Linked DNA regions of Homo sapiens: regions 1, 3 and 4 are each linked to region 2. Evidence: promoter capture Hi-C in human tissues and cell types (Jung and others, 2019). All regions are on one chromosome and are shown on one strand. The core of a region is centred on a gene start or on the middle of the fragment in contact, and the rest is flanking DNA. Distances in the headings are between cores, read along the strand shown. Region 1 holds the start of PMM1 (phosphomannomutase 1). Region 2 overlaps XPNPEP3 (X-prolyl aminopeptidase 3). Region 3 holds the start of TOB2 (transducer of ERBB2, 2). Region 4 holds the start of CSDC2 (cold shock domain containing C2).

Region 1 (4,187 bases), core at 1,369-3,868, 670 kb before region 2:
ACTACAGGTGCCGCCACTACGCCTGGCTAATTTTTTGTATTTTTAGTAGAGACGGGGTTTCACCACGTTAGCCAGGATGGTCTCGATCTCTTGACCTTGTGGTCTGCCTGCCTTGGCCTCCCAAAGTGCTGGGATTACAGGCGTGAGCTACCGCGCTCAGCCTCTTTTCCTATTTTCTAAAAGTTGAATTGCTGACTCATATGATCTGCATCTTTTTTTTTTTTTTTCTTGAGACAGGGTCTCACTACTGTTACCCAGGCTGGAGTGCAGTGGGAAGATCTGGTTCGTTGCAGCCTCAGCTTCCTGGTGATTCTCCTACTTTAGCCTCCTGAGGGACCACAGGTGCCTGCCACCATGCCTGGCTAATGTTTTGTATTTTTAGTAGAGACAGCATTTTGCCATGTTGCCCAGGCTGATCTTGACCTCCTGGGTTCAAACAATCCACCCACCTTGGCCTCCCAAAGTGCTGGAATTACAGGTGTGAGCCACCGCATCCAGCTCTACAGTTATTTTTTATTTATTTAGTTAGTTAGTTAGTTAGTTAGTTTGTTTGTTTGAGGTGTAGTCTCCCTCTGTCTCCCAGGCTGGAGCGCAGTGGCATCATCTCGGCTCACTGCAACCACCGCCTTCCAGGTTCAAGTGATTCTTCCGCCTCAGCCTCCCAAGTAGCTGGGATTACAGGCTCCTGCCACCATGCCCGGCTAATTTTTGTATTTTTAGTAGAGACGGACTTTCCCCATGTTGGCCAGGCTGGTCTCAAACTCATGACCTCAGGTGATCTGCCCATCCCGGCCTCCCAAAGTGTTGGGATTACAGGCGTGAGCCACCGCGCCCAGCCTGTTACTTATTTTCATGTGAAAAGCAAACCTACAAAGCAGGTGGTGTTCATCCCATTTTATAGGTGAAGACACAAAGCCTCTGAGAGGTGAAGTGACTTGTCCAAGGTCCCATAGTGGTGGAGCTGGGAAGGCAACCTGGAAGTGACTCCAAAGTCAACGCAATGGTTAAATAATTGTGAATCGAATCTGGGAAGGTTGGCTGGGAACGGTGGCTCATGCCTGTATTCCCAGCACTTTGGGAGGCTGAGGCAGGCAGATCACCTGAGGCCAGGAGTTCGAGACCAGCCTGGCTAACATGGTGAAAATACAAAATTACTACTAAAAATAAAAAATTAGCCGAGCGTGGTAGTGGGTACAAAATAATCCCAGCTACTCGGGAGGCAGAGGTTGTGGTGAGCTGAAATCGTGCCATTGCACTCCAGCCTGGGCAACAAGAGCAAAACTCCGTCTCAGAAAAAAAAAAAAAATTAGCCGGGCGTGGTGGCGCACTTCTGTAGTTTCAGCTACTCAGGAGGCTGAGGCAGGAGAATCACTTGAACCTGGGAGGCGGAGGTTGCAGTGAGCCGAGATCATGCCACTGCACTCCAACCTGAGTAACAGAGTGAGACCCAGTCTCAAAAAATAAATAAATAAATAAATAAATCGCCCTGTGTCAAAAATAAAATAAAATAAACATAAAAGTAAGTAAAAATACAAAAATTAGGTGGGCATGGTGGCACACGCCTGCAGTCCCAGCTACTCGGGAGGCTGAGGCATGAGAACCGCTTGAACCTGGGAGGTGGAGGTTGCAGTGGGCAGAGATCCCGCCACTGCACTCCAGCCTGGGCAGAGCGAGACTCTGTCTCAAAAAAAAAAAAAAAAAAGAAGAATCTGGGAAGGTCTCCAAGCAGGTAGACCCTGAGAGCTGGGTCTTATGTGTGGACAGAAGGAATAAGGCTCGGGGAAGGCAATTTGGCAAAGTCCAAAGCCTGAACAAAGGCCTTCAGGAGATTTCTTTTCTTTTCTTTTCTTTCCTTTTTTTTTTTTTTTTTTTTTTTTGAGGCTGGAGTGCAATGGCGCGATCTCGGCTCACCGCAACCTCTGGCTTCTTTGGAATCAAGCGATTCTCCTGCCTCAGCCTCCTGAGTAGCTGAGATTACAGGCATGCGCCACCACGCCTGGCTAATTTTGTATTTTTAGTAGAGACGAGGTTTCTCCATGTTGGTCAGGCTGGTCTCGAACTCCCGACCTCCGGTGATCCGCCCGCCTCGACGTCCCAAACTGCTGGGATTACAGGCGTGAACCACCGCGCCCGGCTCAGGAGATTTCCTACAGCTCAAAATTTGTAAGGCAAAGAGATGGCCACAAACCTTGTGAGAGTGGATGGGGAGCGACCTCGGCTCTCTTAGTCCCGCCTGGCCCACTAGACACTGCACTGCATGGTAGAGGCCCCGCCCGACCCAGCCCCTTAATCGGCCTGTTGCAATCACTATCAACCCGCCAATTCTGGCCCCGCCCCTGTCTTCCGGGTTCACCCTCTCACTTCCTGCGGGTCCCAGGCTCAGGCCCCTCCTCCGCCTTGTTTGGAGCAATCCAATCGAACCTGGAGGGCTCCGCTCCGCCCTATGCCGCGCTCCCCTCCTCCACGAGCAATGAGAATCAGCTCAGGCCCCGCCCCCGCTTCCGCCCGCCTAGACCACGCCCCTTCTTCATTTGGCCAATCAGGCAGTCCACTGGCCCCCGCCCCCTAATGCCCCGCCCCGTCAGCACTTATCCCTGAGCTGCTTCTGCCGTTGCATCTTCGGGACTCCGCCCCGCGCGCGGACCTGCAGCCATGGCAGTCACCGCCCAGGCAGCCCGCAGGAAGGAGCGCGTCCTCTGCCTGTTTGACGTGGACGGGACCCTCACGCCGGCTCGCCAGGTAGGACCCTGAAGATTGGAAGCTCCCACCGGGAGTGTCACGCGGACACCCCCGAGGCTGAGTGTGGGGTCTGCAGCAGCGTGACCGTGGACACCCGGGGACCGAGTGTGGGATGCGGCGGTACCCGGCCCCCTGACATCCGGGGCCACCCACCGGGAGTGAGGGGACCTGGCCCTCACGTCACTGACCCCGCAGCGTCCTTGCCTGTGTTCTGCTTGGGAGTGCTGGGGTTGGATCCAGTACTGGAGGGAGGAGGCTGCGAGCAGGGGCCTAGCTCCCTCCCTCCCCGGAGGCTGTCACACGCCGCTAAGGCCTGGCTCACGGACGCCCCCGCCTCCTGAGCTGGGGATCCCACCCTAGTTCAGCCCTACGACACACCAGTGGTCGGAGCTGGCTTCTGAACCGGGGTTCCAGGCACACAAGCACACAGCCAAGCGTCAGTCATCATCTGGTGGGAGACAGGGCGTCTCGGAGTCTTCCCACCCCGACCTTTGCAGGCCTGGGACTGGGTCTAGTTTCTGAAGCCCCATCACCCACTTTACCTTCCACCCCCAGTCGTGGAGCAGAGAGGGCTTCTTTTCAAATTCGTTTATGAGCTCTACCCACCCGGATGTGAGAGGCTCCAGGCCTAGCCTGTTTGCTGTGAGGACACTGAGGAATAGTGAGGGTAAGAGTCTAGTTTTCTTCTAAAGACTCTCGCTGTGTTGAGCCTCTTACCTCTGCTCAGTTTTTCTCCCATTGGGTCTCATTGTGAGTGAGTCCCCAAAAGCCCCCTCACCAGCTGGATGCATCAGTAAGCAGGCTTCATTCATGCCCTCCCTGTGGGTAACCCACCCTCCAGTCTGGGGGCCTCAAGGACCAACCAACAGGTCTCCTAGCGTGGGGGAGCAGTGGGATGGGCTTTACTGGGCAGTGGCTGATGGGAACCCAGGTCTTAGCCTCCTCTCTTAGGTCCCGAATGCCCCTCCCCATCCTCTGTGGTGAAGTTGCCCTGGCTTGGGCCCTGGAGGCCTTCCTGCAGGGGTGGATCCGGGAGGAAGATAGCAGGACTGGAGCAAAGGTGGGCCATTTGCTTGTGGGTCACGCCTGTAATCCCAGCACTTTGGGAGGCCATGGTGGGCAGATCACCTGAGGTCAGGAATTCTAGATCAGTCTGGCTAACATGGTGAAACCCCGTCTCTACTAAAAATACAAAAATTAGGCTGGGTTCAGTGGCTCACGCCTGTAATCCCAGCACTTTGGGAGGCCGAGGCAGACAGATCACGATGTCAGGAGTTTAAGACCAGCCTGACCAATATCGTGAAACCCTATCTCTACTAAAAATACAAAAAATTAGCCAGGCGTGGTGGCATGCACCTGTAATCCTAGCTAGTCGGGAGGCTGAGGCAGGAGAATCACTTGAACCCGAGAGGCAGAAGTTGCAGTGAGCCGAGAATGTGCCATTGCAC
Region 2 (4,780 bases), core at 1,257-3,756:
GACATGGTCTTTGGGAATATTGCTGAAGTGTCAAAAATGTCACTTAAACAACAAATACCTTCTCCTTTGACCTACAGAATAACCCATAAAAGGATTAAAAGTTAATCTCTCTCTCTTTTTTTTTTTTTTAGACACAGGGCCTTGTTCTGTGGCCCGGGTTGGAGTGCAGTGGTGCGAACATAGCTCACTGCAGCGTTGAACTTCTGGGGTCAAGTGATCCTCCCACCTCAACCTCCCAAGTAGCTGAGACTAGAGGTGTGTGCCACCACACCTGGCTAACTTTTAAATTTTTTGTAGAGATAGGGTCTTGCTATGTTTCCCAGGCTTCTCCTCATTTCTTGTTTCCTTTTTCACCCTGTCGGCACCAGACTTCATTTTAAGTTTTCTGAATACTGAGCTAGTTATGCAGCATGTAATGAATCAGCATGTGCTGCCATCTTCTGGAAGAAATAAGTACTGACTTCCTTTGTTTTAATCCATGTTAAAGCTAAATCCCTTTTATAGATCACAAAGATGATTTCTAAATCTTTTCTTTTTACTTAAAAAACCCTGTGTGTGTATGTATATATATCTACGTATGTGTGTGTATATATATATGTGTGTGTGTGTGTGTGTGTGTGTATATATCTACATGTATATAGATGGGTCTTGCTATGTTGCCCAGGCTGGCTTCAAGCAATCCTCCTGCCTCAGCCTCCTAAACTACTGGGATTACAGGCATGAATCACTACATCTGTCCCATTTCTAAGTCTAATTAGCTTTATATAGGGTAAAAACCTAGCAGCATGCTAGGTGTTCTTGAGAACTGGGGTCAAGAGAAGTGAAGTACCTTGAAGGCATTATTTTCCTTAATGTTCTTCATGATCCCCAAGTCTTTAAGCTTCTGTCCTATCAGGGTCAGCATCATGCTGTAGATGTTCTCCAAGCTTGTCCCAGGGAAGCAGAGGGCCAAACAATCTCTTTGGATCTCTAGAACGGCTTCATAGAGTTCTGCCTGAGGTGCGGTGAACCTGGGGACGGGAAAACCAAAGAACCTGAACTTAGATAATCTGATATTCTAAGAAGTTTGCTACTAAGTTTGATTAGAAAAACCCCAAGATGCTGCTGTTGCTGGGGCACTGTTGATGTTTAATAAGTACCAATCTATCAATATGGCCAGGAGCTCAATCATGTCCTAGGTGCTCAGTAGGAAGGGCAACAATCCTTCAAGCTGGAGCAGCAACACAGTCTCTTCTTCAAATGGTCAGGAGAGACATGAAGTAGGGCCAAAAGAAGCACTGAGCCATGAGTGCAGTCAGTGGGCAGATGAGGCTCAGCCATGATCCTGTTTAATCCCTTACAGCATAGACTACCATTAAAAAAAAAGGCAAGAAAGCCTAGGGACCCACTTCTGACAGGTGAAGCAGATACCATGGGATAAACTAGTCAACATCTGGGCTACTAGTAATGTACTAGCACTTAAGTGTCTTTAGAATAACAGTTTCTTTAGCAATTACGAGATAAAAAAGTGACCTGGGATGATACATGATATGTATTCTCACATACTGTTGATAGGAGTATAAATTAATACAGCCAATTACATCAAAGGCCTTAAAGATGCTCATATAACTAGAGCTTATAATTCTACTCTAATATATCCAAAGAAAATATTTGAAATTCAAAAAAGCTGAATGTACTAAAATGTTCGCTGTAATTTTATAATTGTAAATTATTAGACAAACTCTAAATGTCCCCTAATAGAAGAATGCTTAACTATAATAGCATAAGAAACCCACAGCATAATGTACCCATACCCCAGCCCACCACAGTATTACTAAATAATCATTTTTGTAATAGTTTTTTTTTTTTTTTTTTTTAGAGACAAGGTCTCACTATGTTGCCCAGGTTGGTCTGGAACTCTTCAGCTCAAACGATCCTCCTGCCTTGGCCTCCCAAAGTGTCTTTATATACACTAAAATGCATACATTTGAACGGTACAATTTTGACAAATTCATGTACCAAACCTATTGAAGCTGGGAACAATGAACTCCTAAATTCTGCTGAGTCTTCGTTGCCAGCAGAAGTGGCCCTTCCACCCCCGTCTGAGAAGGTTAACCCTGTTTTGCCTGAAAACTTGTAGGTATGTCCCTTGAGGCAGTTGCCTTGGTTCTACTAGAATTGTAACTACACTCAAGTCCCAGCAGGCTCCAAGTTAGGCAGAAAGCTTGACCCATGAGGAGGTCCACTCCACACCAAAAAGAACTGCATGAGGGGCTGGGCGCGGTGGCTCACGCCTGTAATCCCAACACTTTGGGAGGCCGAGGCGGGTGGATCACCTGAGGTCGGGAGTTCGAGACCAGCCTGACCAACATGGAGAAATCCCATCTCTACTAAAAATACAAAATCAGCTGGGCATGGTGGTGCATGTCTGTAATTCCAGCTACTCGGGAGGCTGAGGCAGAAGAATCGCTTGAAACTGGGAGGCGAAGGTTGTGGTGAGCCGAGATTGCGCCATTGCACTCCAGCCTGGGCAACAAGAGTGAAACTCCGTCTCAAAAAAACAAAACAAAAAAAGAACTGCATGAGGTTTCCAATTTCCGAAAGACAAAAATCTGGGAATGTGGGTGGGAATGAATATTTATGGTGTGGGATAATGGTAGAAGGAACACAGTTGCATCAGGCAACTTTACTGATATGGGTCCACTAATCAGAGACTCTGGATTCAACGTTGCCGCTGAAGGGGTCAGAAAAGTTCTAACAGTTTGTTGCCTAGCTGGCTGAAACACAAACCAAAAGGTAACCCACAATACATAAACACAAATGCCACAACTGCTTTGGTATACTGGAGAAGGAATTCTGCCTCAAGACTATAATATAAACCCTGCCTGAGTTTGGACTGAAGTCTGCCCTATAGATTTTGGACTCAAGCCTTATACAGACCATTTCCATCTCCCCTGAAAGCCTCCTCATGTTCATTTCTTTTTTTCTTTTTTTGAGATGGAGTTTCGCTCTTTCACCCAGGCTGGAGTGAAGTGGTGCGATCTCGGCTCACTGCAACCTCTGCCCCCACCGGGTTCAAGCGATTCTCCTGCCTCGGCCTCCCAAGTAGCTGGGATTATAGGCGCCCACCACCACGCCCAGCTAATTTTTGTATTTTGAGTAGAGATGGGTTTCTGCCATGTTGGCCAGGCTGGTCTTGAACTCCTGACCTCAGGTGATCCACCTACCTTGGCCTCCCAAAGTCCTAGGATTACAGGCATGAGTCACCACGCCTGGCCCACATGTCCATTTCTAATCAATATCCCTACTTTCCGAGGCAAATGCTATTGTGATTATTTTGACCTTAGTTTGCCAAATCTAGAACATCATATAAATGGAATCATATAATATATACTCTTTTGTGTCTGGCTTCCTTCACTGAACATAATCTATGCTCAGTGAGGGTAGAAGGTTGTCTATGCAGTACATCCATGGTGGTGCTTCAATCAGTAACAAAAAACATTCGATCAGTAATTAAAATGTTCTTTTTTATTACTGAGTGGTATTCCATTGTATGAACAGACCACAATTTGCATATTCATTCTCCTGTTGATGGACATTTTGGTTGTTATACTATTGTGAATAAATGCTGTTATGAATGTCCTTGTGCAACCCTTTTTGTTGAGAAATGTTTTCATTTCTCTTAAATACCTAGAATTTGGCTGGGCATAGTGGCTCATGCCTGTAATTCCAGTGTTTTGGCAGGCCAAGGCAAGAGAATCGTTTGAGCCCAGGAGTTGCAGACCAGCCTGGGCAACATAGCGAAACCGTGTCTCTACAAAAAAACAAAATATTAGCCAGGCATGGTGGCACGTGCCTATAATCCCAGCTACTTGGGAGGTTGAGATGTGAGGATCGCTCTCTGCCTCAGCCAACCAAGTAGCTGAGATTACAGGCACCTGCCACCACACCCAGCTAATTTTTGTTATTTTAGTATGGACGGGGTTTCACCATGTTGGTTAGACTGGTCTCGAACTCATGACCTCAAGTGATCCACTCGCCTTGGCCTCCCAAAGTGCTGGGATTACAGGTGTGAGCCACTGCACCTGGCCTTTTTACAATGTACTTCTATTCTTCCAGCTGGATAATTTCTATTTATCTTCAAGTTTGCAAACTTCTGCTGTCTCCAATCTACAGTTAAGTCTACCTGGTGAATTTCCTGTTTCAGTTAATGTACTTTTCAGCTTTAAAATTGTCATTTAAAAATTTAAAAAATTTTTAATTGTAAAACAAAACACAGATATAAAAAGCCAAACAAATCAATCAAACATAAACCTTAAGAAATTATTCAGTGGCTGTATTAAAAATACAAAAATTAGCCAGGCGGGGTGGCATCTGCCTGTAGTCCCAGCTACTTGGGAGGCTGAGGCAGGAGAACTGCTTGAACCTGGGAGCCGGAGGTTGCAGTGAGCCAAGATTGCGCCACTGCACTCCAGCCTGGGCGACAGAGCAAGACTGTGTCTCAAAAAAAAAAAAAGAAAAAAAAATTATTATAAGGTGAATACCAGTCAGATAAAACAACAACAACAACAAAAAAAAAACCCACCAAAACTTGGCAGACTATCCCAGAATACCCTTCTATAGGTCCCAGAATAATGACAATCTTACCAACAAATATCCCTCGTCCTAACTTTTTTTTTTGAGATGGAGTCTCGTTCTGTTGCCCAGGCTGGAGTACAGTGGTGTGATCTCGGCTCACTGCGACCTCCACCTCCCGGGTTCAAGTGATTCTCCTACCTCAGCCACCTGAGTAGCTGGGACT
Region 3 (4,711 bases), core at 141-2,640, 530 kb before region 2:
TGTTCGTAGCTGGAAACTTTCGGATCTCGCCACCCAACGTGGGGATGGCGGCTGCTGCTGGGCCGGAACCGTCTGGAATGACAAAAAAGGTGTGGGCGGGAGGGGAGAACTGGGAAATGGGAGATCTAAGGAGGGACCGGGGAGAAGACCTCACTCACAGTCCCCCGGGGGCTCCAGACTGCATCTTCCGGCACTCCTGTCTGCCTGTGACCGCAGAACACGGCCCTCCCTCCCCCTGGCTCTGTGTCCCGCACACTCACAGAGGCAGAGCAGCCCGCGTGGCCAGAGCCGGGGGAGGGGGCCTCAGCGCGCGGGCCTGGCGCGCCCAGTCCCGGGTTCGCGGAGCCTCGCTCCGCCGCCCGAGGGGCCGTAGTGGGTGCGAGCCTTGCGCCCGTTGCACGGTCAGGGGCCACCCCACGCCGGCGGGACTGCGACTAGAAGAAATGTGGGGCTCTCCCGCGTGCCCCACACTGGGGTCGCTGGCCAGAAAGAGCAAACAAGAGTTGGGAGAGGGGCTGCGCCCGCGCGCCTGCGCAGAGCCAGAGCCGGCCCTCCAGGCTGCAAGGAAAGGAGCGCCAGAGGCGGTGAGGGGAAGGTCCTTTGTGGCACTCGGCTAGTTTCACGGCCGTCAGCCTCGTCCTCGGCTCCTCTTACTCCCGCACAGCGTGGCCCAGGCCCCAGAGTCTCCCTCGCCTTTCTTTCGACGTTGAGCCCCCCGAGGAATCACAAGGCGCTCGGAAGACTCATGCCTGCCCGAAACGGGTCCGAAATGTTTCCAGAGCCCGCGTCGTCCCCTCAGTTCCCCCTCCCGCAGAGGCCGTAACGGGGCGATGCTATCGCCGCGGACACGGCCAGACGCTCGGAGCTGGAGGGAAGGCCCCGGGAAACGGCTCGGGCAAACGTCCGAACCATGGGCTCCGAGGCAGGTGCAGGGCGGACGACTCAGCGGGGGGTTTCCGGCGGGCATGGTGACTCCCTCCCCTCCCCCGCGATACTCGTCCCCCAAACACAACTAAAGGGAGAGTGCACTGTGCCCGGCTCGTGAGCAACCCGGCCCCAGGTGGTCCCCGGCCCTCACGGAGCGCCCCTGGGAGAACACCTCACACGACGCGCACAAGTTCAGAGTGGTATGGGAATGAAGGAAAGGAGTGCGGCGCGGCGCTGTGACAGGGAGGGGAAGACGGGGAGCCGGACGCACGACCGGCGAGCACAGAAGGGCACAGGAGCTGCTCCGCGAGATACCAGCGAGCTGAGGCGCGGGGCTGGCTGGGAAGTAGTCCCGGCCGGGCCCTGGCCCCGCCCCTGCAGGGCGGAGGGACGCATCACGCAGGGGTGGGGAAGCCGGATCCGTGCGCAGGGTTGCTAAGGGTGAAACTTTTCATTGACTTTGCTCACTTCGGGCCGGGGCGCGGGAAGGTGCGGGTTGTTGGCTGAGGCAAGCCGTGGCTCGGGCGACGCGGGGCCAGGAGGGCAGGACCGTCTGCCGGCGACAGCCCATACCGTCTGCCGTTGCGCGACACGAACCACCCTCCGATCCGCCATCCCCGCGTCGTCGCCGCTAGTCCGCCCGCCCGCCCTCGGGCCCCCCGCTGCCGAGCCCGACCTCCTAAGAGCTGAAAGAAATTATTGAGAGTCATAGTCCATAGCCCCCTGCTTCGTCCCCCAACCCTCAACGACGAAAAGGACTTCGGTCCCCTGGCCCGGCGACGCCCGGGAAGGAAAGGAGAGCGACCTCCGCCCCGCGCTCAGGCCACCCTGGAGGGAGAAGCCGCCCCGCGGCCGGTAGAGCGCCCCGCCGCCGCGGAGACCCGAGTGAGTGAGTTGGGGGGCGTGCGGGCGGGGGGCCCGCCCCGAGACCCAGCCGGCCGGACTACCTCTTCCACCCCGCCCCACTCCCGCTTTGCTGGACTCTCCACGTTGCTGCCGCTCCCTCCCCGCCTGGCCAGCATTTTCTTTCCCCATCCAGCTTCCCTCCAGACCCCACTTTCCCCAGCTCCTCTTCTCACGCCATCTGTGCTCCTGGGGTGCCCAAGAGCTCCTTTTTCTCCCAGTTCCAAGAGTGGCCCTCTCCTGGGTGGGGTGCATTTCCTCCCTTCCCCGCCTCCCCCGGTTCTTTATATCCTAGCTACTCGCTAGATCTTCCTTGTTCTCCAAAGAAACATAACTCCCCCCACCGTTAAATAAATCCGAGGAAGGAAGGGGATCCAGGCCTTGTTTTTCTGCTTCTTTTCCCGTGTGCAGGGAAGGGGGGTGGTAATTGTTAATAGACTCTATTTCTGGCTCTGTGGAGCCTGAAGGGTGGAGGGTGGACACCCCCTTTGGCGACGGGACAGGTCAGTGGAGATTGTCCTTGGGCCACTGAGCCAGAGTTCACCGTTTCGGCTGAGCTCTTTATACTCTTAAGTGTTTTAATGGAAAATTGGGCAGAAAAAAGTACCCTTAGAGCAGTGCCAGTGAGTGGATTCTGCTTATCTTGGTAAGGTGCCTGCGAGGTGGGGCCCTACCCCCAAACTCCTTCCCCTCCTGTCCGGAGGATGAACTGTGCCCTTGACCACCAGAAATCTGGGAGGGGAAGGAGGGTGCAGAGAGGAGGCACAGCCGGCAGGCCCTCTCCCTCCCCCAGGAGAAACCAGAACCCCGCACAGCAAGCTTCAGCTTGGGGACGGGTGGAGGCCAGTCTCTGGTGCTACTCCGTATCTAAACGGTCTTTTTCTCCTTCTTACCCACCGTACCCTGGGAATGGGTCCTTCATCTCTGATTTTCCGGCAGAAAAACAATCCTATTGCTTTCTTGGGCTTCTACCCCCATCCCTCCGTGAAGCATAGGGGGAAAGAAGCTTGTGTGGGAGGAAGGATTAAGGAGGTTTAACACCCAGCGGGGGAGCTTGCCGAGGATCTGGTAAGTCTGGTCGTAAAGCAGACCTTGCAATGGGAGGAGACACACAGAATTTTAGTATGAGAAGATGCTCAGGTGTCAGGTGTACAGTTTTTTTCTTCTCTGCCTGGGAACCTTTTCCTATTTCCCTCTCCCGGATCTGGTTACTCAGTCTTCGATTAGAAATGGGGTGAGGCTTGGGCCCTGCTGGCCTTGGCCTGGCGCCTCCCCACAGCTTGACTGGAAATTTCTTTGGCCGAGAGGACGGGAGAACTGGGTTTGATTCCTGCCTTTCCTTTCCTGGCTGTTTGGGGTGCTGGAGCCGAGTCCGCTAGGCATTAAGTGAAAAAGATCCGTTTCCCTTTGAATCCACCGTCCATCCAGCAACCCCACACGGACCGCCCAGGCCCTGGAATTCAGATTGGGTGGGGGGAAGGGGGTCGTGACCTTATCTAAGCCAGCCCACCCCCTTCACCCAGAAAAAACTCATTAGAAGCAGATCCTAGTTTCATCAGTAATGGGAGGCGATGAAGGGAAAGGTGGGAAAGTTAGGCTCTCGTAAAGCCTAGAGGATGTGGTGGGGCCATACAATACGGGGAGTAGGCCTTTTGGGTAGAATCTACATGAAATGTATTAGGCGATGGGAGGGGGGCGCCGACCCGCCTCAGCGCGCATGTGCATCGGAAACTTTTCCTGGGCTCTTCGACCCTCGGTCGGCTCCCCTTACCGGGCATGCGTATTGCGGCCAGTTGGGCCTTCGCAAAGTGCTCAGGGAAGTGTAGTGTGCAGGGAAAGTAGGTCACTCCTGCTATCGCCTGGTCCGGAGGTGTTTGAGGACTACAATTCCCAGAGTGCAGAGCGGGCCCTCACCGCCCGCCTCTCCGCCTACGTTTGGGTTGAGTCGAGTTTTCCTAGCTCCTGAGGAACATGGAGTGCCCTAGAAAGGGTCTTCATAGCCGAAAGGGGCCTTGTTGTCAGACCTAAGGTTGACCGGTCTGTGTCTAGGGGGAGATGATGAGAGACTGGGCGCGGTGTTGCAGTCAGTCAGCACCAGTCCTGGAAGCCTTTCAATACACACCCGCCTGTCTGGGCCGCTGCCTCTGGGACCAGCGAGTTGGGGCGGATCCCGTGTCTCACCAAGGAGAGGAGCTGCCTGCGTTTGGCTCTCACTCCCCGGACAGCGGCAGGGCACTCGCATCCACCCGGTCTGTGACACCTGCTGGCCCCTCCACACTTAGTTGAGTCCTGTAGTCCGTCATTGTAGGACAGTTTGCACATTTAAGGCTTAGAGGTGTCTGAGTATCTTTTTGGGTTTGGGGCTCAGTGGATTCCATCACCATTATCCCTCCTTTTCCTCTTTGAAACAGAATTTTCTTTCTGAAAAACCTTCCGGCCGGGTGCGGTGGCTCACGCCTGTAATCCCAGCACTTTGGGAGGCTGAGGCGGGCAGCGGATAACCTGAGGTCGGGAGTTCGAGACTAGCCTGACCAACTTGGAGAAACCCCGTCTCTGCTAAAAATACAAAATTAGCCGGGCGTGGTGGCGCATTCCTGTAATCCCAGTTACTCGGGAGGCTGAGGCAGGAGAATCGCTTGAACCTGGGAGGCGGAGGTTGCGGTGAGCCGAGATCGCGCCATTGCACTCCAGCCTGGGCAACAAAACCGAAACTCCATCTCAAAAAAAAAAAAAAAAAAATCTTCTGGCTAGGCAGTGACTCACGCCTGTAATCCCAACACTTTGGGAGGCGGAGGCGAGCGGATCACGAGGTCAAGATTTCGAGACCAGCCTGGCCAACATGGTGAAGCCCCGTCTCTACTAAAAATACAAAAATTAGCCG
Region 4 (4,747 bases), core at 158-2,657, 640 kb before region 2:
TTTTTTTTTTGAAGGGGGTGAGGATGGGTCAAGATGGGCAGACACAGAAAACAGACATTTTTGGAGAAGACTTCAAGGAAATGGGGGGCGGCAGGGCAAAGCTGGGAGGAGGAAACATTCAGAATTTGGAGGGTCCAGAGGACTCTGGGATGGAGTCAGGTTTGGGAAACCAGTTCCCCATCCCCCAGAAAGCTGGAGACCCCCTTTCCCAGGGAGAGGCCCCTGCCGGATCACAGCCAGGCAGCATGATGCCAGGCTCTCAGAGAGGTTGCCCACCCCCCACTGGGCATACTTCCTCCTCTCCTACCCCAGCCCCAGTGGATGCAGCAGTTCACACTCTGTATTTATTATTGTTCTCGCTCTGTGTCCCCCTCCCCTCTCCCTGGGAAGAGCCTGCAGGCTGGCAGCTTGGCAGGAACCTGCTGTCTCCTTGTGGGTGCCAGCGTCGCCCCTTATCTCCGCCTGGACTCCTTGTGCCAGGGTCAGGCCATTCATGGGCTTGGCACCAGCCAAGGCCACCCTAAGTCCCTGTATCCCAAGATAGAGGCCTGGCAGGCCCTGACTTATCACCCCTGCCCTCCGGGGGCTGTGCCCTGGCAAGGGTGGAGGTCAGAGCAGACCAGCAGGCAGGCAAGAAGCAAGGGCTCGGGGTGGGGTGGTACCTGGGGGAAGAGAATAACCACACGGAGCCACCTCTCTAAGCCAACTAACACAATTATCCCCATCACACTGGGGAAAAAATAGAGTCAGGATAAGACAGCTGCTCCAGGTCCAACTGTCTGCCTTTCCCAGCCGGTCCCTTCCCAGCCCAACATTCCAGGGGAAGGACCAGCAAGGGTCCCTGCTGCACTCTGCTTTCAGCAACTGGAAGCGGCACTGGGGTTTCTCTGGTCAAGGCGGTCCTCTCTCCCGCTGCTTCCCAGACAGGAGGCTGCGGCTTGGCAGGTATCTGCTGCTCTCTGCCTCCTGAGCCAGACGCAGGTCCCAGACACAGACACAGACACAGACACAGACATGCTCCCACGGGAGCCACACGGCCTCACCTCATTTGGGGGTCACGGGGAGAGAATGAGGGAGGGAGAGACAGGTGGTATCCTCTATACCCCCAACACCCTATCTGTAAGCTGAACTGGGCTGATCCAGCCCCCACCTTCACGTTGTACCTCTCTCCTTCGGCCTGGCCAAAGCCACAGTTTCTGGCACAGTGTCCTCAGGCCCCATCTAGCCCCTCACCTCTCCTGGGCAGCTGGGGTCCAGGCACTGCCTCCTGCGGCGTCCGCGCTCTGTCTCTCTCTGGCTCGTGGAGCTGGCAGGCAGGGGATGGGTCTGGAAGATGTGTGTGTGTGTGTGTGTGTGTGTGTGTGTGTGTGTCTGTGTGTGCTCGCGCGGGCGGTACCTCAGCCCCTCACTCACTCACACGCCTTCCAGCTGACGTCAGGGAGAGCAGGAGGGAGGGATGAGAATTTGTACTCCCTGCTTAAAGGGACACCAGGCTCTGTGGCTCATGGCCCAGACATCACCTCCTGAGTCAGGCACTGCCAGGTGAGAGGCTCAGCTGCGTCTCTCGGGGGCCTTAAAGCTTCTTTTTTTGGAAAGTGGCTTTTATGGTCGGGCCACGGTATAATTTGCCCTGCCCAGTGAGGGCAGCTGCTGAGGAATGCAGGGGAGGAAGAACCTGAGACAGCGCCACGTTCCTGGTAATTAGAGAGCAAGTGGGGTGGTGAGTTTGAGTGTGAGTGTGTGAGTGCACACTGGGGGGCCCCTCGGGGTGGGTGGGCATGAGTGGGGGTGAGTCTGGGAGAATGGAGGTCAGAGCCAAGAGGAGCCCCCCAGAGGGGTCGAGACAAGCCAGGTTCCCAGGGACACCCAGACACTCGTCTCCCCTCCGGACGCTCAGTGGTCCTGCCCTCTGCTAGTACAGACACTGACACGGCTCATCTCTGTCTACCCCTTGTAATATTTCCATGGAATTGAATTGACGAGGACCCCAAGGAAGTGATCGGCTTGAAGGTGCACAGGTGAACACCCCACAGCCTGGGAGGCTCTGAGTAGAGAAGTAGAGAGGGCTGATTGAATTCAGGCACCCAGCCTGTTCTACACCACACGCCCTGGCTTCGAAGTGCTCCGCACTGTCAAGCTGTGTGACCTTGGGCCAGCCCCTGAGGGCCTTTGGAGGTTGAGTGTGTGATGTTCCTAAACCCAGGGCCAGCTGGAGGAGGCCTCCACAAAGGTGCTTCTCTTCGTTCTTCCCATTCCTTCTCAGCCTCAGCTTGGAAAGAAGGAAGCCTTTCCCTGGTGTCTCCTGGTACTACTGAGGCAGGCTGGCATTTTCAAAAGGAGTCTTTTTAAAATAAAAAGGAGGTGGGAGTTAAAAGGGAAACCGCAGAGAAAAATACAAGTAACTAATACAAATAGCTAAGACGCCACAAGAGCTTGCTCTGTTTCAGGCAGCAAGCTTTGCCCTCATTGAAACCTCACAACAATTTAATAATTTATTTTTATCATCCCTACTTTACCGGTGAGGAATTAGAGGCTCAGGGAGGAGGAAGGACTTGACTTGCCTATATTCTTCCAACTGGCTAGAGAGGTACTGGAACCCAGGAGCACCCAGTGTCACCACACGCCCCTGCCCTTCCAGAACCTCTCAGGACAATCAGGCTCAGACAGTCTGGGTTTCTGGTTCTGCAGGAGAGACTGTTGAGAAATGCTGCCTGTGGTTACCTGGGGATGTTCTGAATTATTATTATTTTTTTTAGAGAGTATTGCTGTGTCGCCCAGGCTGGAGGGCAGTGGCTTGATCTCAGCTCGCTGCAACCTCCGCTTCCCGGGTTCAAGCGATTCTCCTGCCTCAGCCTCCTGAGTAGCTGGGACTACAGACACACACCACCACACCCAGCTAATTTTTTTGTATTTTTAGTAGAGACAGGGTTTCACTATGTTGGCCAGAATGGTCTCGATCTCCCGACCTCGTGATCCACCCACCTCAGCCTCCCAAAGTGCTGGGATTACAGACGTGAGCCACCGCGCCCAGCCAGGGTTCTGATTTTATTTCACAGCCCCACCTGAGAACTCTACCCAGAGGAGCCTCCCTTCCCCTTTAAATTCTCCTCTCTCTTTCCTCCTTTTTATTTATTTATTTTTTCTTTTTTGAAACAGGGTCTTGCTTTGTTACCCAGGCTAGAATGCAGTGGCTCAATCACAGTTCACTGCAGCTTCCAACTCCTGGGCTCAAATGATCCTCCCGCCTCAGCCTCATGAGTAGCTGGGACTACAGGGGTGCACCACCATGCCTGGCTAAGTTTTCAAAAAATTTTTATAGAGATGGGGTCTCATTATGTTGCCCAGGCTAGTCTCAAACTCCTGGCCTCAAGCGATCCTCCTACCTTGGCCTCCCAAAGTGCTGGGATAACATCGTCTCTTCTTTCTTCTTTGCCTTCCTCTCCTCCAGCAATAATATCTTTCTTTTTTTTTTTTTTTTTTGAGACGGAGTCTCACTCTGTCGCCCAGGCTGGAGTGCAGTGGTGTGATCTCAGCTTACTGCAACCTCTGCCTCCCGGGTTCAAGCAATTCCCGTGCCTCAGCCTGCTGAGTAGCTGAGACTACAGGCATGTGCCACCACATCTGGCTAATTTTTGTATTTTTAGTAGAGATGAGGTTTCGCCATGTTGGCCAGGCTGGTCTTGTACTCCTGACCTCAGGTGATCCACCTGCCTCGGCCTCTCAAAGTGCTGGAATTACAGGCATGAGCCACTGCGCCTAGCCCCTTGCCTGCTTCTTCTGACAGCTCTATCGGGTTCGGTGGGATGAGGAAACAGCTCAGAGAGCTCGTGGGGCTCCACTGAGTCACGCGGCTCCGAAGTGGAGGAGTGCTGGAGCAGAGGCCCCAAGCCTGATCTCTGGACCTATGTTTTTTTTTTCTTTTTTTTCTTTTTTTTAGACGGAGTCTTGCTCTGTTGCCCAGGCTGGAGTGTAGTGGTGCGATCTTGGCTCACTGCAACCTCCACACCCCTGGTTCAAGCAATTCCCCTGCTTCAGCCTCCTGAATAGCTGGGATTACAGGAGGACGCCACCACGTCCGGCTACTTTTTTTGTATTTTTAGTAGAGACAGGGTTTCACCATGTTGGCCAGACTGATCTCGAACTCCTGACCTCAGGCAATCCGCCCACCTTGGCCTCCCACAGTGCTGGGATTACAGGCATGAGCCACTGCGCCCGGTGGACCTATGTTTTTCAAACACACCAACCTGCCCTCCCAGCAGAAGCGCTGGAGCCATGGTGGACGCTGGCAGTTTTCCCTGGCCACCCTTACTATCCTGTTTGCTGGGAACTGCCTTGATGTTGTCACCTGGGGAATCACCTCTCCCCTCTCTTGGTCTGTAGGACCTCTGGCCCAGGCTTGGCCAACCAGAACTGGCATCAGGACTTGAGCTGGAATGTGGATGCCCAGGCTGGCCCTTCTCCCGGGGGCCCCCATGTTGTTTGAGTGATGGGTTATAAGCTGATTGGCCAGCAGAGGGGGAGTGGCTGGGCGGACATTTCTGCACTCCAGGTGACCTCGGGACCCAGCTTGTCAGGACCTAGAGAGAAGACATCGAGAGGGAAGAAGCTCGGGAGGTTGGAAGGCCCTTGGCTGTATATGAGCTTGGGGTGGCGGAGGAACAGAAAGGAGGCAGTGTCAGGGTACAGGGTGAGGGAAGGGAATGCGGAACATGAGGCAGGGTCCCGGAGGCCAGCTCTCAGGAGGCTG

What was found. Contacts are between HindIII fragments. The study calls those that stand out against the background at their distance.
Region 1: the fragment with the promoter of PMM1 here is called in contact with a fragment that was not itself captured in region 2 in 1 of the 25 tissues and cell types used here (dorsolateral prefrontal cortex).
Region 3: a contact is called between the fragment with the promoter of TOB2 here and a fragment that was not itself captured in region 2, in 1 of the 25 tissues and cell types used here (spleen).
Region 4: a contact is called between the fragment with the promoter of CSDC2 here and a fragment that was not itself captured in region 2, in 1 of the 25 tissues and cell types used here (spleen).

The regions. Positions count from the first base shown.
Region 1 is chr22:41,588,271-41,592,457 of GRCh38, reverse strand. PMM1 (phosphomannomutase 1) reads left to right here and starts at 2,618. Exons shown (of 8, transcript NM_002676.3): 1 at 2,618-2,739. The coding sequence starts at 2,653. RefSeq lists a silencer at 2,270-2,419 and an enhancer at 2,814-3,493. The HindIII fragment of the contact is 27,075 bases long and covers 1-4,187 here.
Region 2 is chr22:40,918,563-40,923,342 of GRCh38, reverse strand. It overlaps XPNPEP3 (X-prolyl aminopeptidase 3), which reads right to left. Exons shown (of 10, transcript NM_022098.4): 8 at 830-1,010. Among named protein-coding and RNA genes, the nearest start is that of RBX1, 30 kb to the left of the region's middle. The HindIII fragment of the contact is 3,206 bases long and covers 904-4,109 here.
Region 3 is chr22:41,443,480-41,448,190 of GRCh38, reverse strand. It overlaps TOB2 (transducer of ERBB2, 2), which reads left to right and starts at 1,390. Exons shown (of 2, transcript NM_016272.4): 1 at 1,390-1,812. LOC105373043 (a long non-coding RNA gene) reads right to left here and starts at 1,246. Exons shown (of 2, transcript XR_938274.2): 1 at 159-1,246; 2 at 1-72. RefSeq lists a silencer at 259-358 and enhancers at 229-924, 929-1,178, 925-1,620, 3,726-3,845. The HindIII fragment of the contact is 14,496 bases long and covers 1-4,092 here.
Region 4 is chr22:41,557,670-41,562,416 of GRCh38, reverse strand. CSDC2 (cold shock domain containing C2) reads right to left here and starts at 1,407. Exons shown (of 4, transcript NM_014460.4): 1 at 1,234-1,407. LOC105373044 (a long non-coding RNA gene) reads left to right here and starts at 1,534. Exons shown (of 2, transcript NR_134631.1): 1 at 1,534-1,697. The HindIII fragment of the contact is 6,219 bases long and covers 240-4,747 here.